5 separate regions of the Homo sapiens genome follow, and regions 2, 3, 4 and 5 are each linked to region 1. Evidence: promoter capture Hi-C in 16 types of primary human blood cells and fetal thymus (Javierre and others, 2016). All regions are on one chromosome and are shown on one strand. The core of a region is centred on a gene start or on the middle of the fragment in contact, and the rest is flanking DNA. Distances in the headings are between cores, read along the strand shown. Region 1 holds the start of TMEM65 (transmembrane protein 65). Region 2 overlaps FAM91A1 (family with sequence similarity 91 member A1). Region 3 overlaps FAM91A1 (family with sequence similarity 91 member A1). Region 4 has its middle 34 kb from the start of FER1L6. Region 5 has its middle 15 kb from the start of FER1L6.

Evidence for each region. The method cuts DNA at HindIII sites, captures the fragments that hold promoters and counts their contacts. A CHiCAGO score of 5 or more calls a contact.
Region 2: a fragment that was not itself captured here is called in contact with the fragment with the promoter of TMEM65 in region 1 in 1 of 17 cell types (neutrophils); the score reaches 5.1 in neutrophils.
Region 3: a fragment that was not itself captured here is called in contact with the fragment with the promoter of TMEM65 in region 1 in 2 of 17 cell types (naive CD4 T cells and activated CD4 T cells); the score reaches 5.3 in naive CD4 T cells.
Region 4: a fragment that was not itself captured here is called in contact with the fragment with the promoter of TMEM65 in region 1 in 11 of 17 cell types (M2 macrophages, naive CD4 T cells, total B cells and 8 more); the score reaches 9.6 in M2 macrophages.
Region 5: a contact is called between a fragment that was not itself captured here and the fragment with the promoter of TMEM65 in region 1, in 1 of 17 cell types (M0 macrophages). The highest score is 6.1, in M0 macrophages.

The regions. Positions count from the first base shown.
Region 1 is chr8:124,371,419-124,373,990 of GRCh38, reverse strand. It overlaps TMEM65 (transmembrane protein 65), which reads left to right and starts at 1,290. Exons shown (of 7, transcript NM_194291.3): 1 at 1,290-2,137. The coding sequence starts at 1,834. RefSeq lists enhancers at 728-917, 1,129-1,423 and silencers at 1,148-1,377, 1,498-1,767, 1,898-2,027, 2,078-2,207, 2,218-2,267. The HindIII fragment of the contact is 4,556 bases long and covers 134-2,572 here.
Region 2 is chr8:123,779,107-123,781,678 of GRCh38, reverse strand. FAM91A1 (family with sequence similarity 91 member A1) reads right to left here. Exons shown (of 24, transcript NM_144963.4): 7 at 1,604-1,694; 8 at 1,137-1,199. Among named protein-coding and RNA genes, the nearest start is that of FAM91A1, 12 kb to the right of the region's middle. The HindIII fragment of the contact is 2,784 bases long and covers 1-2,572 here.
Region 3 is chr8:123,800,293-123,802,864 of GRCh38, reverse strand. All of the region lies in intron 18 of FAM91A1 (family with sequence similarity 91 member A1), which reads right to left. Among named protein-coding and RNA genes, the nearest start is that of FAM91A1, 33 kb to the right of the region's middle. The HindIII fragment of the contact is 4,877 bases long and covers 1-2,572 here.
Region 4 is chr8:123,816,607-123,819,178 of GRCh38, reverse strand. No RefSeq gene overlaps it. Among named protein-coding and RNA genes, the nearest start is that of FER1L6, 34 kb to the left of the region's middle. The HindIII fragment of the contact is 988 bases long and covers 809-1,796 here.
Region 5 is chr8:123,835,543-123,838,114 of GRCh38, reverse strand. No RefSeq gene overlaps it. Among named protein-coding and RNA genes, the nearest start is that of FER1L6, 15 kb to the left of the region's middle. The HindIII fragment of the contact is 7,253 bases long and covers 1-2,572 here.

The DNA of each region.
Region 1 (2,572 bases), core at 41-2,540:
TGCACTCAAAAAGCTTTCATTTCCACAGAGAGCATTCTTAATTGTTGTTATTACATCACAGAGGCATCACCTTGGAATTTAAAAAAGAAGCGATTCCTTTCAATGTTTAAGAGACATCAGTGTTTCTCAAGCTTTCGTGTGTGTTATTACTGGAGGGCTTGTTAAAACCCACATGACTGGGTCCAATGTCTACGTTCTGATTCAGGAGGTGTGAAGTGGGGTCCACTATTTCTCACGTCTAAAAAGCTCTGGGACACACTTTGAGAACCAGAGTTAGAGAAGTAGGAGGCTTTAGTGGTAACAATCCTCCATTATTCAGTTTAATATTCTACTTACATGTAGCACATTTACTACCTACAAGTTTCCGGGCTGAGTGCAGCACTGTTTATGATAAGGATGGGATTTAGATCTTGATTACGCTCCAGCAGATTTATTAAGTGGATTTATTCTCTAAGGGTGCCTAAGCGTCATTAGACAGGTTCAGATAAAGCAGAGATCTCCTCCCTTAGAAGAGATTAGGGACAGCTTAATGAAGTAGGAGACCTTTCACCTGGGCCTTGAAAGATGCCTAGGACCTGGATCAGGGGAAATCGTGGACAATCAAATTATTCTTCCCGCTTTAGCACAGAGACAAAAAAATCACAAGCAACCACTAGGAAAGGTCTATGACATTCTTGCCTCTGCCTCTAGCATTAACAATTTGCATGCCAGCTGCTGGAATCTGAACGGGGAGGACTGTTCTCGTGTCAAGGGCTCAGTCTCAGACCCTCCTTGGGCAGGGGTGGAACTGGCTTCGCTTTCTCTTTGGGGCGCCCAGAGCGACTGCATTAGAGCCGGCCTGCTCGGCCGAAGCGGCGGTGGGCGCTGACTTGGCGAAGGGCGCAGCTGGGGCGCTTCGTTCCGGAGCAGAGCGCCGTGATCCCGTCGGGGCTGGGGTGGCAGCGCAGCTCTCCGCCTGTCCAGAGCGGGGCCGCACGCCGGGGCACCTTTCAGAACAAGCTCCAGATGTGGCCCCAGGTTGGGGGCCGGGTGGCAGCTGTACTACCCTGGCGGGCGAGGGGTCCAGAGCTCGTTTTCCCTATTCCGATCTGTAGGTTTAACGCCAGCACAGGGTGGCGCACCCTACCTCCTTCCACCTTCACGCACCAGCGCGGGAGGGGACGCGTGTGCACGCTCCTCCCCTAGGAGGGAGGGCGGCCCGAGAGCCTGCAGACTGCGCCTGCGCAGCCTCGCTCACACACCTCCCCGCCCCCCCGCACCTCCTTCCCCTTTCGCCCCGCCCCGTTCCCACTTCTGCTGCCGCTAGGGGTAGCGGCGGCGGCGGCGGCTGCGGCTCGGGAGCGCGGCTGCTTTGAGGGCTCGGGAACCTTACAGAGTGGGGACGTGGGGAGGCTAGAGGGTGAGAAAGCTGGCGGGAGAGTAGGGCGGCGCTGGAGGAGGGCGGTGCGTGGCTGACTCATCCTCTGGAAGATCAGACTGACAGAGACACACACTAGCCCGCCCCGCCCGCCCGCGCCGCTCCTCCTCAGCCGGGAGGCGCCCGCCCGCACCGACCGCCCGCCCTCTCCGGGCGCTGTCCGGGCCCGGCCGTCTCAGAGAAAGTTTTTCCCATCGGAGGGGCGGGAGCCGCCGCGGGCCTTTTGGAAAGGAAGTGGGGACGGAACAGGAGGCGAGAGCCGCGCGGGCCCGCGGAGTGCATGGTGCCCGGCGCCTCGGCTGCCTGGCAGGAGGACCTCGGGGCGGGGTCGAGCTGAGCCCAGCTCCTTCTCGCCTCAGCCGCGCCAGAAACCGCCTTGCCGGACGGCCGCGGGGGTCCCAGCTCCTCAGCTCGCCATGTCCCGGCTGCTGCCGCTGCTGAGGAGCCGGACCGCGCGCAGCCTGAGGCCGGGCCCGGCCGCCGCCGCCGCGCCCCGCCCGCCGTCCTGGTGCTGCTGCGGGCGGGGGCTGCTGGCGCTCGCGCCCCCCGGCGGCTTGCCGGGCGGCCCCAGGCGGCTGGGCACGCACCCCAAGAAGGAGCCCATGGAGGCGCTGAACACGGCGCAGGGCGCGCGCGACTTCATCTACAGCCTGCACTCCACGGAGAGGAGCTGCCTGCTCAAAGAGCTGCACCGCTTCGAGTCTATTGCCATTGCCCAAGGTAAGGGGGGCAGGTGGGGGGCGAGCCCGGGGGCCCCGACGCCCTCCTCTTCTCGCCAGCCCACCGGGAGCCCGCTGCGGCCCTGGATCTTGGACCCCCGCCGCCGCCCCCCTTCCGCCCCCCTCGCCTGTCTGGCCCCACGCCTGGGACGGCTGGGGGCGGGGAGACTTTCCGCCGCCCGAGTTTCCCCCAGGCAGGTAGGACGGGCGCGGGTCGTGCCAGGCAGCCGAGGCCAGCGCTAGCTACTTCCTCCCCAGCCTCCGAATCCGGAGCTTCGGCCTAAAATGCCAGTTAACGCTGTTGGGATTGAGTTTTGATTTGCCCCGTGCCTCCCCTCCCCAGCCCTCCTGTCCCTTAGCCCTTGCTGCTTTCTTGCGAGCGTGCACCCGTGCAGGTGGCATGCTGTGCCTGCTCCGAGAAAGTGCTGCAAACCCG
Region 2 (2,572 bases), core at 23-2,522, 590 kb after region 1:
ACCCTGTCTCTATGGGTTTTACCTGTAGAGTAAATTAGCCAGACGTGATGGTGGGTGCCTATAATCCCAGCTATTCGGGAGACTGAGGCAGGAGAATCGCTTGAACCCAGGAGGCAGAGGTTGCAGTGAGCCAAAATCATGCCACTGCACTCCAGCCTGGGCGATAGAGCTAGAATCCGTCTCAAAAAAAAAAAAAAAAAAAAATTCACATATGCACAAGGTTTAAAATGTGTTATTAAAGAATCACAAACATATGCCAACCCAAAGGTCTGGACACGCTACAGCATGATATCTTGTCAAGATTCAACACTGATATAAAGAAGTATTTCTGTAATAAGCCCTATCACCACTAATTTGTTAATATTAGGGTCATTCTCTGAAATTTTTTGACACTTTATATTTGATTACACAAATATTCAATATCTAAGTATAATAAAACACAAGAACAATAGTTAAAAGATATGCCACAAGACATACTTGTAACATATAACCTGAACATAGTAAGTGCTTCTATAAATTGGTAAGAAATCTAACCTATAGAAAAAAAAGCATCACTCTGTATTCAAGGATATTGAACATATCAGTATTGTAGTGGCAAAAAAACTGGAAATAATCTAAATTACCAGAAATACAAAATGGTTTAATAAATTGATACATCCATAAAGTGTATGACAAATATACAAGGCTCCTAATATTGGTTTAACTTGGAGAAGTAGGTAAAGGAAGAAGGGAAAAGGAAATAGACAAAAAGACTACAGTAACATGAAAAAATAATGCACCAGTATGTTAAGTGAAAATGAGAACATACAATTCTATGAGATTACTGAACACATGTAAAAACAGCTACACACTGAACAAGGATTAAAAGGTAACAAAAATTTATAAAAATATTGATTTGATTTGGGATTGTTAGAAATTTACCTTGGGTTTCTATTATTTTAGTGTAGTATGTACACCAAATACAAAAATGAGAATAAAGAATTTAAGTAAAACCAATGTACTATGTTAAAATGTAATAACGAAGCAATATTTTTCTTGAAATATCCTAACATCTAAGATCCTAGAACGGATGATATGCAATGCTTAGCACCTGATATCCATTCAAAAAACAGTGAAAAATGTTAGCACGGACTTACCTGCTATACAACTGTCATCAGATATTGGTACATCCAGATAAATAAATCCTTTGTTATACAAACCTGAAGAAACAAAAGTACCTTGTTTTAGATGGAACACTACACAACAGTGATTTTTTTAAAAAAACTAATTCCTGGCTTTCTGTAAAGATTCTTACAAATGAATGCTATGTGACGAAAGAAAAAGTAAAATAGAAGAGAAAAAGAATTAAAGTTTTTAAATCTCGGTTTCCTGCATATACTCTGAAGTACAAAATTTTTCTTATCATTCAGTTGCATAAATTTCTAGTGTATGTGACTAATTATAGCCACACTGGAAAACAAAAGACTAAGGTCACATTTCAAACAATAACATGCCTTAGAAACTAGTACTATTTGTACCTACTTGATAAGTAATTGCTAGTAATTATTGATGGTTTAAAACAAGTTTTTATGTTGACAAAAGACCATTTCTACTAACCACTTACTATGTACTACATTGTAATCTAGTGATCCAGAGAGTTGAGGGCCTGAATCGATGATCTTATCAACAGCGCATTTCTCAGGCAAAGTGCATATCTAAGAAAAGCAAAATATTTTTAATTAAGTTCTGTCCAAATTAACTAATTCACAAGTCTCCTGAAATTTATTTATGTTGAAACCAGTGATTACATGTCATTAGCTCAATGAACTACATATTTATCACTCTATAATTCAAACAAAAAACTGTGCACATAGCCATCAATTAAGGTGCCAAAATATGCAACATACCAACAGAATGTAGAGAACAAACTTACTGTAAGTACCAACATTTGCTAGTTAGTAATATTTGTTCCTTGTGATTGAATTGGAATTAGATCCATCTGCCAATTCAGAATCTCTCTAGCCAGAAATTTAGTCAAACTCTACATGAATATTGTCAGTAACAGGAAAGTTCACTAGCTTATTATGATACAGTTTGAGAGTTCCATTAAGAGGTACTTTAGACTGAAGTAAAATTTCTAAGCCTTCCACTCAATGGATTTAGTACGTACCCTGGAGAAAATTAAATGCAGACCAAAAAGAAGCCCACATACTCATTTCCATTGCTTCAGCTACGCATAAATACAACCTGGTCTCTAGGTGCCCTCATTACTCCACCCCTTTCCTCTAAACCAATATCCCTTCTAAGATGTGGTCTGACCACTGGGAATATCAACTCTCTTGATCTTGACACTATCGCCCCATAAAAGCACCTATCACTTCAGTACAACAGTTCTTTGCAGTGATTAAGAGTACAAGTTTCATGGTGAACTGCCAAAAAATCCTGGACCTTTACTACCACTAAGACATGAGCTGTTACTTAATTGTTCTGTGCTCACTTTCCTCATCTGTGAAATGGGGGTACAAATAATACATACCTCTGGGGCTGTTATGAGAATTAAGTAAGACAATATAAAAAGCACTTGTAATAGAGC
Region 3 (2,572 bases), core at 23-2,522, 570 kb after region 1:
GGGAACTTTATCTCCAGTTTATAGGTAAAGACACTAAAGTTCAAAAAGGTATTTAACTTGTCTAAGATTACTAGTAAATGATGGAACCAAGATCTGAGTTTAGGCAGTCTGACTTAAGTCCATGTCTAGCCCATTCTATGATGCTATCTCCCACGACCACCCCATACTATATATCTTCCCTGGCTAATTTCATCCTCTCATGGTTTCAACTACCATCTACCACCTGATGCTGACACTTAATCACTCTTGTCTAACCTCTCATTTGAATTTCAGAATATTTCCAATTACCACAGGCACCATATAAACACAACACATCATCTGCCCCATAAATGTGCTCTTCCTCCCGTGTTCCCCAGAGTAGTGGTATCACCACCTCCCATGATATCACTTCCTCCCGTGTTCCCTAGAGTAGTGATATCACCACCTCCTGTGATGTCACTTCCTCCTATGTTCCCTACAGTAGTGGTATCACCACCCTTCTACCTTCACAAGTCAAATACCCCAGAATCTTTCTTCCCTCTTCCCATCTCTCTCAGATATCTGATCAATTCTATTAATTGTATATTTGTAGTAGTTCTTAAATCCATTTTTCCTTTCAATTCTTATTACCATGTCCTTGATCCGGGCTATCTTTATCTCTTATCTAAACTACTACACACAGTCCTAACTGGTCTTCTTGCTTCAGGTGTCTCCCCACTCCCTCCCATTCTCAATATCATCCCAAGGTTGATTCCTGAAACAAATTTGACCATGTTAATCCCTGTTACCCCCCTGTAATTGCTACCATCAATCTACAGGTCAACTTCTCAGTTCCACGGCAGGACACTCAAGGCAGGCGGCACTGCAGGGCCAGCCTACTTCTCCAGACTTGTCTCTGACCACAACCCCCTCACACTCCAACTCACCCCTCAAAAACACTGAACAGCTTATTGACCCTGGCATGTTATGTCACTTCATATTCTTATTTATTTATTCCACAAACACTAACTGGACAACTACTATGACCCAAGCACCGTGCTGGGCACTAGAAAAATAGCAGCAAAGAAAAAAGAAAAAAAAAAAAATCCTTGCCCAGAGATTTAATCATGCTGACCCCTACTACCTCGCTTCTTTTAAGTCATCCTTTTGTATTCAGCCTGGGTCTCACTTTCTCTAAGGAACCTCCCCTAAGCCCTTCTCCTTGCCCCAAGGCTGGACTGGATAGTTCTTTTTAAGTCTTCCACTATATGTAATTCTATTCGATAAACTGAAACTGAGTGCTTATGCAGCTTTTCCCACCATCCTTAAATTCCTTGAAGATGAGGGGCCCTGTCTTATTTGCATATTGATATTAATTAGCGCAAAATATGCACATTCAATTGTTAGATGAACTGACGAAATCTTTACGGAGAACCTATTATGTGCCAGCAAGTGTGCTACACATTTGACACGTACATTTTCATTTCATTCTCTCAATTCTATGAGCATAAACTGCTTACCTTACCACTAGTTGCCATTATTATAAGTGTTTGTTATTATACAATAGATATTGCCATCTCCATTTTATAGGTGGGAAATAAAGTATAAGGTTTATCATGAAAATGTCACACAGCCCAATAAGCACATGCAAAGAAGCTCAACATTATTAGTCTTCGGGAAAATGTAAATCAAAACTATAATGAGATACCATTCCACACCTCCTAAGGTGGTTATCATCAAAAAGCCACATAATATCAAGTGCCCGTGAGAATGTAAAATGATGCAGCCACTTTGCAAGACAGTCTGGCAGTTCCTTAAATGCTTAAACATGGAATTACCATATGACCCAGTAATTCCATCCCTATACATATATAGCCAAGAGAAATAAAAACATATGTCCACAGAAAAACTTGTACACAAATGTTTATGACAGCATTCTTCATAATGGCCAAAAGGTGAAAACAACCCACATGTCCATCAACTGATGGAGGAATAAACAAAATGTGGCATATCCATAAAATGGAACATTATTTGGCCTCAAAAAGGAATGAAGTATTGATACTATGACAACATGATGAACCTTGAAAACATTATGTTAAATGAAGGAAGCCAGTCACAAAAGACCACATATTATATATGATTCCATTCACATAAATGCCCAGATTCGGCAAATCTATAGAGACAACAAGTAGATTAGTGTTGCTTAAGACTAGAGGGAAGGAGATGAGTAGCGGGGAGAAAATAGAAGAGTGATCACTAAAGGATACAAGGTTTCTTTTTAAGGTAATGAAATGTTCTAAAATTGAGTGTGGTGATGGCTGTACATATCTGTGAACACACTAAAACCCACTTAACTGCACAATTTAAATTGGTGAATTGTACAGTATGTGAATTATATACTCAATACAATAGTCCCCTTTTATGTGAGGTTTTGCTTTCCATGGTTTTAGTTATCATCTGTGGTCAACCAAGGTCTGAAAATAGGTGAGTATAGTATAACGAGGTATTTTGAGAGAGACCACATTCATATAACTTATATTACAGTATGCTATTTTCTTATTAGTAATTGTTGTTAATCTCTAGTAAGAGATGTCTAATTTATAAATGAAACTTT
Region 4 (2,572 bases), core at 53-2,552, 550 kb after region 1:
GTCCTTGTCATATCTAGAAAATATTTTATCTCAGGTTTAAGATTTTCTTCTGACTCAGTTTATAGAGTTCTGGCAGGCAGGAGGTTTCATTTTTATTTAGTAATAATTACCAGTTTTCTTTTAAATCTTCTGGGATTGGTGTCATCCTTTAAAAAGTCTTTATGCCAAATGTATGGAAAAAAAATCACCTGTTTCCACTTTTATGTTAATATTTTAAAATATTTAAACCTTGATCCCTCTTAAGTTTTTGGTATGAGGATTGAGGCAGAATTCCGCCCCCCTATATTTTTTCCAAATATCTGCCAGTTATCCCCAAATCAGTTACTAAATGATCCACGGACATTCCTGGATACTAATCTGAAATGCCACATTCAGATTCTTGTGTATTAAGTTCTATTTTTTAGTTTTCTGTCTGTATCTGAATAATCTGTCTGTATCTGAATTAGTACCATACTGTTTAATTACTTTAGGCTTATAATACATTTGATTACGCCTGCTGGGATAGATATTTTTAGATTTTTTTACCTTTAAGTCTCCACTGTTTCTTCTTCCAGGTTCAGCTTTAGAATCACTTTGCCAAGTTCCAAAATTTAAAGACGAAAACAAAACAAAACAAAAACTCACTGGTATTCTGAAGGAAATTGTGCTTAATTCATAATATATTTAGGGGGAATTGGTAACTTGACAATATTGAGGCTGCCTATCCAAGAACAGTTATGATTTTCCGTACATTCAGGTTTTCTTTTCTGTCCTTCAGGAGTGCTTTAAGGTGTTCCTCAAGGGTATCTTGCAAATTTCTCACTAAGCTTCTTGTCAGGTGCTGTGATCCGACTGTGTCCCCCCAAAATTCATATGTTGAAACTGTAACCCTCAACTTGATGGTATTAGGAGGTGGGGCCTTCAGAAGGTGATTAGGTCATGAGGGCAGAGCTCTAATGAGTGAGATGGGTGCTCTTAGGAAAGAGGCTTGAGGGAGCTCATTTGACCCCTCCACCCCGTGAGGACACATTGAGGAGATGGCCACCTATGAACTGGGAAACAGGACCCTCTTGTTTCAGACTCTGCCAGAGCCTTGACCATGGACTTCCTAGCCTCCAGAACTGTGAGAGAGAAATGTTTGTTGCTTCTAAGCAGCTGTGGACTTTTGTCTACCTGAACTAAACTGAACAAACTAAGACATCCAGTATTTCACTTTATTTTATATTTATGCATGGGTACATATTTATTGAGGTTTTTGTTCTTAGTATTAAGAAAGATCTTTTACTTTATATTTATACATAATTTTTGCTACTAAGGTAGCTCTTTTCTTTCCTTATATCAATATAACTGGTTGTTGATTACAGATAAGAAAGCTACTTACTGAAGTCTGTTTCTAATGTTTCAGGTAACTTTTGCATCTTCCTAGTATATAAGTATCTGAAAAATTATAATTTTTCCCCATCCTTTTAAATGTGACTACCTCTTATTCTTTTGCCTAATTTCATTAGCTACTAATTCCAATGTTACATGCCTAATAATGGTTTGGTGGGGATACTTGTGCTGTTTATGTCCTGGGAGACTATTGCTTCCAGAAATTCAGAGTTAAAAATGATTCTGCATTGTTTATAGAATAAACTATGTGGTATCCAAGTTTTGCCTTAAAATAATCTAGTGGTGGGGGAAATAGTATCGTTGTGTGTGTGTGTATATTTACACACACACATATATACATATATAAGTGGTCTTTGTTTTGTATATATGCAATGAGGGGCTAAACATGAATCACTGTGGAAACTGGGTGATGGGTGCATGAAGCTTCACTATACTATTCTCCCTTCTTTTGTATATGTTCCCTAACAAAAAGAAATAAAAACATAATGAGGCTGGGAGGATTTCTGCTTTGAAAATGTTTAAGAACTTTCTGCTCTTCTCCTCTTGGCAACCACCCACTAAAACCACAAGGAGAATGAGAAACAGAAACAATCAGTGATAAAACTATGAGGGGTTTGTAACCCAAACCACAGGACACGAAGACAGAAAGCAGATACTTGGAACTGGAAGATGGCTTTGCAGAGCAGAGGAAGAGGAATTTATCAGAAAATAAGAGTTCATTATTAAGAGCATTTAATCCCCTAAATACCACCTCTTTCCCCATCCAGCTAGGATACTAAGGGAAAGCTGAACCAGAGAGGCTGAAATGGAGTGAGGCACAGGACTGGAAAGAGAATAATGACATGCAGGCTTGGGTACAGACTGTGGAGACTTCACTTCCCTCCCCAGATCCCAGAATTTCGTAGCTGTACTTAGAATGCCTAGAAAAGGAAGCTGAAGGCTCCCTCCTTGATGTCTCCCTTAACCTAGGAACAGCACAAATATCCCACATTGTACCATTATTACTGACATGTAACATTGCCTGGACCCATAGAACACCTGCAGATCCTAACAGCTGGGAGCACTAGAAACTAGAAAATATTGTAACCATCCATTAAATGGATGTTATAATTTTAAAAGAACATAGTTATAGCTTAAATGTTTTCACTTCTGAAATGTATCTAAATATCTATATGTAAACGTAACACAATCATTTGTTCAT
Region 5 (2,572 bases), core at 24-2,523, 540 kb after region 1:
ATGGAGCATAGGTCTCCTTTTGAGGACATAACCCACAAGATGCTAGGTAAATTCTGCTTGCTTTCATTGGCCAGAATTTAGTCACCTGGCCACACCTGGCTACAGAGGAGGCTGGAGAAAATGTAGTCTTTATTCTGAGAAGCCATGTACCCAGCTGAAAACTAAATAGCTACAGAAGCCAGGAAAAGTGGCTATTGATGGACAAATAGCAGTCTCTGCCACATGAGTAAAGACATGGGGTGGCATTCAGGGATGGAGAAGATTCCAGATCACTGCAGATTGAAACAGAGTGGTTTTCTAAGGACATCTGTCCCAGTATACATAACTCTAAAGCACCACTAACTGCTGGGGCGCCATTTTTTCTCTAGAAATTTGGAACATGTCCCAACACAAACACATGGTCCTTATGTCAGAAATACAGAGTGACAGACTCCATTATGCATTAGTCATGTTTATAAACAGGTTTATTTTTTTTTCAGACCACGTCAAAATATCTCTTGCTCAAAACAGTTCTAAAGTGTCCTATTATCTCAGGCATTTCCTTTGTTGCATGAGAGTTCCATGAACACTTGGAGCCAGACAGAATAGTTCTGGAGTCTCAGACTCAAGTCAGGAATTGCATGGCTTTCATGGCAGCCAGAAAAGCTCAGCGGGGCTGGGTCTCGTGTCATTTACTTCAGCTCTGGTGGTGTGAACTAGTTTGGGATTCTCTGAAGTGCTTCGAACCCAACATTTCCCCCACACTCCTGAGCTACCTACCAGTCACAGCAGCTGTATAAGGTCTCTGAACCTCTGCAGAGGCCACATCAGCTGCAGCAAAGACCCCTGGTGCTGTGCCCTCCACCTCCTGCCCTCAAAAATCAGTCAGGCTTAAAACAGTGCCAGGCGCATGGTGAGCATCGTATAAACAATCGCTATGGTTATTATGGTTTTTATTATGACCACTGCTTCCTGAAGAATCTTTAGAGTTTGATTGTGAGTTGCATAAGGGCATAAATTATCTTTTCTCACTCCTTCCTCCTCAGCATCTAATATGGTTCAGGTCTCATATCCAACTCTATTCAACCTATATATATTAAGCCTCTACTATGTGCTAAGTACCAAGCTGGGTAATGGGACATAGTGATGAATAAAAGCCTTGATTTGTGTTGTTACAGAACTTAGAGTTCAGCAGGAGATATTTGTGGAAGGAAAATAACAAAGAGAAGGAAGCGGGGAAGGATGAAATGGAAGAATAAAGGAAAACTTGATTTTTGACTATAAGGGCAGGGAATATCACAGGTATTAAGCAAAGGTATGAAAGTTAAGCGTGGAGAAATTAAAATGCACCTTGACCCCAGGCCACCTTGAAAGCTCTTCTGAGAGAGCCCAGCTCTGGCCCACTGTCCATCAGTGCAGCTTTAGCAAAAATACATCGAGCTACTACTCCTCCTTGCCCCGAGAGCCCAAATGGTTTGAGTGGAAAAGCAGCCCAGCATAAGTACCTGGATGAGGATTAGACCTAAAGCAACCAGAGCCCTGCAGAATAGGAGGAGCAAAAGGCCAGTATTTTACCATAAGAAACACAGAGGTCCAAATATATCCACAGTTCCCTTGTGTCCCGAAAGTCAAGTCAAGTGATTATAGATATGCATATTCCTCCAGCAGTAAATAATACATCAATAAACAAAGGTGAGAGTGGCTCAAAGCAGGTCATTTTTGGGAAGGGACATAGGGTCATCACGTGGGAGGGTATGTTTGGTTAGAGATGAGTAACTGCTGTGATAAGCAATCCCAAAACCTCAGTGGCACAGTCATAGCCCAGTAAGCATTGATAAACACAACAGTGCCTATCTTCATGGAGCTTACCATTTAGCTAGAACTACAAACAAATGAGCATTCACATTTCATTGTGTTCAGTGCTCTCATAGTATATATACAGAATGCTCTGAGCTTACAGAGAAGGGCTCCTAACTCCAACTTGGAGTGATTAAGGAAGGTGTCCTGAGCATCATTTGCCCTGTCTATCTGGTCCCACCCATCGTAAGGTGATTTTCTTCATCTCTCACTTCCATGTTTGTTACAGGTGTAGCCAATTTTTCTAACATGGCCAGCCACAAGTGGTGGCATAACCATAATCCCCTTCCTTAGGAATATGGGAATTAGGATAGAGACAAATCAGGCTCTCTCTCGGTAGATGAGCCTGTAATATGTAAGCCTTGGGAGTGGTTGGGGAAGCAGAGGAAACAAGTTTGGAGGGAGAAGAATCGAACAGGCATACAGAGAGGAGGAAGATTGGAGAACCCTGATCCTAGTTGTCTCTGAGGCTTAATTCCGTCTCTGTTCTCCAGTTCCATCAGAACCCCAGGGTCTTTATAATAAATGCCCTCTCTTTTTAAAAAATGAAATAAAGCCGGTTCCTCTTACAACCAACCAAGACTTCTAATGAATACAAATGCTGAGGACTCGCATCTTAGCGAAGACCTGATGGGGCAGGAGTGGAGAGCCCAGTGATGAGAGGCAGATGGTAACACGAGGCTGAATGACATGTACCTCATAGAAAGATGTTCATAATGTGATTTTAAGTGAAAAA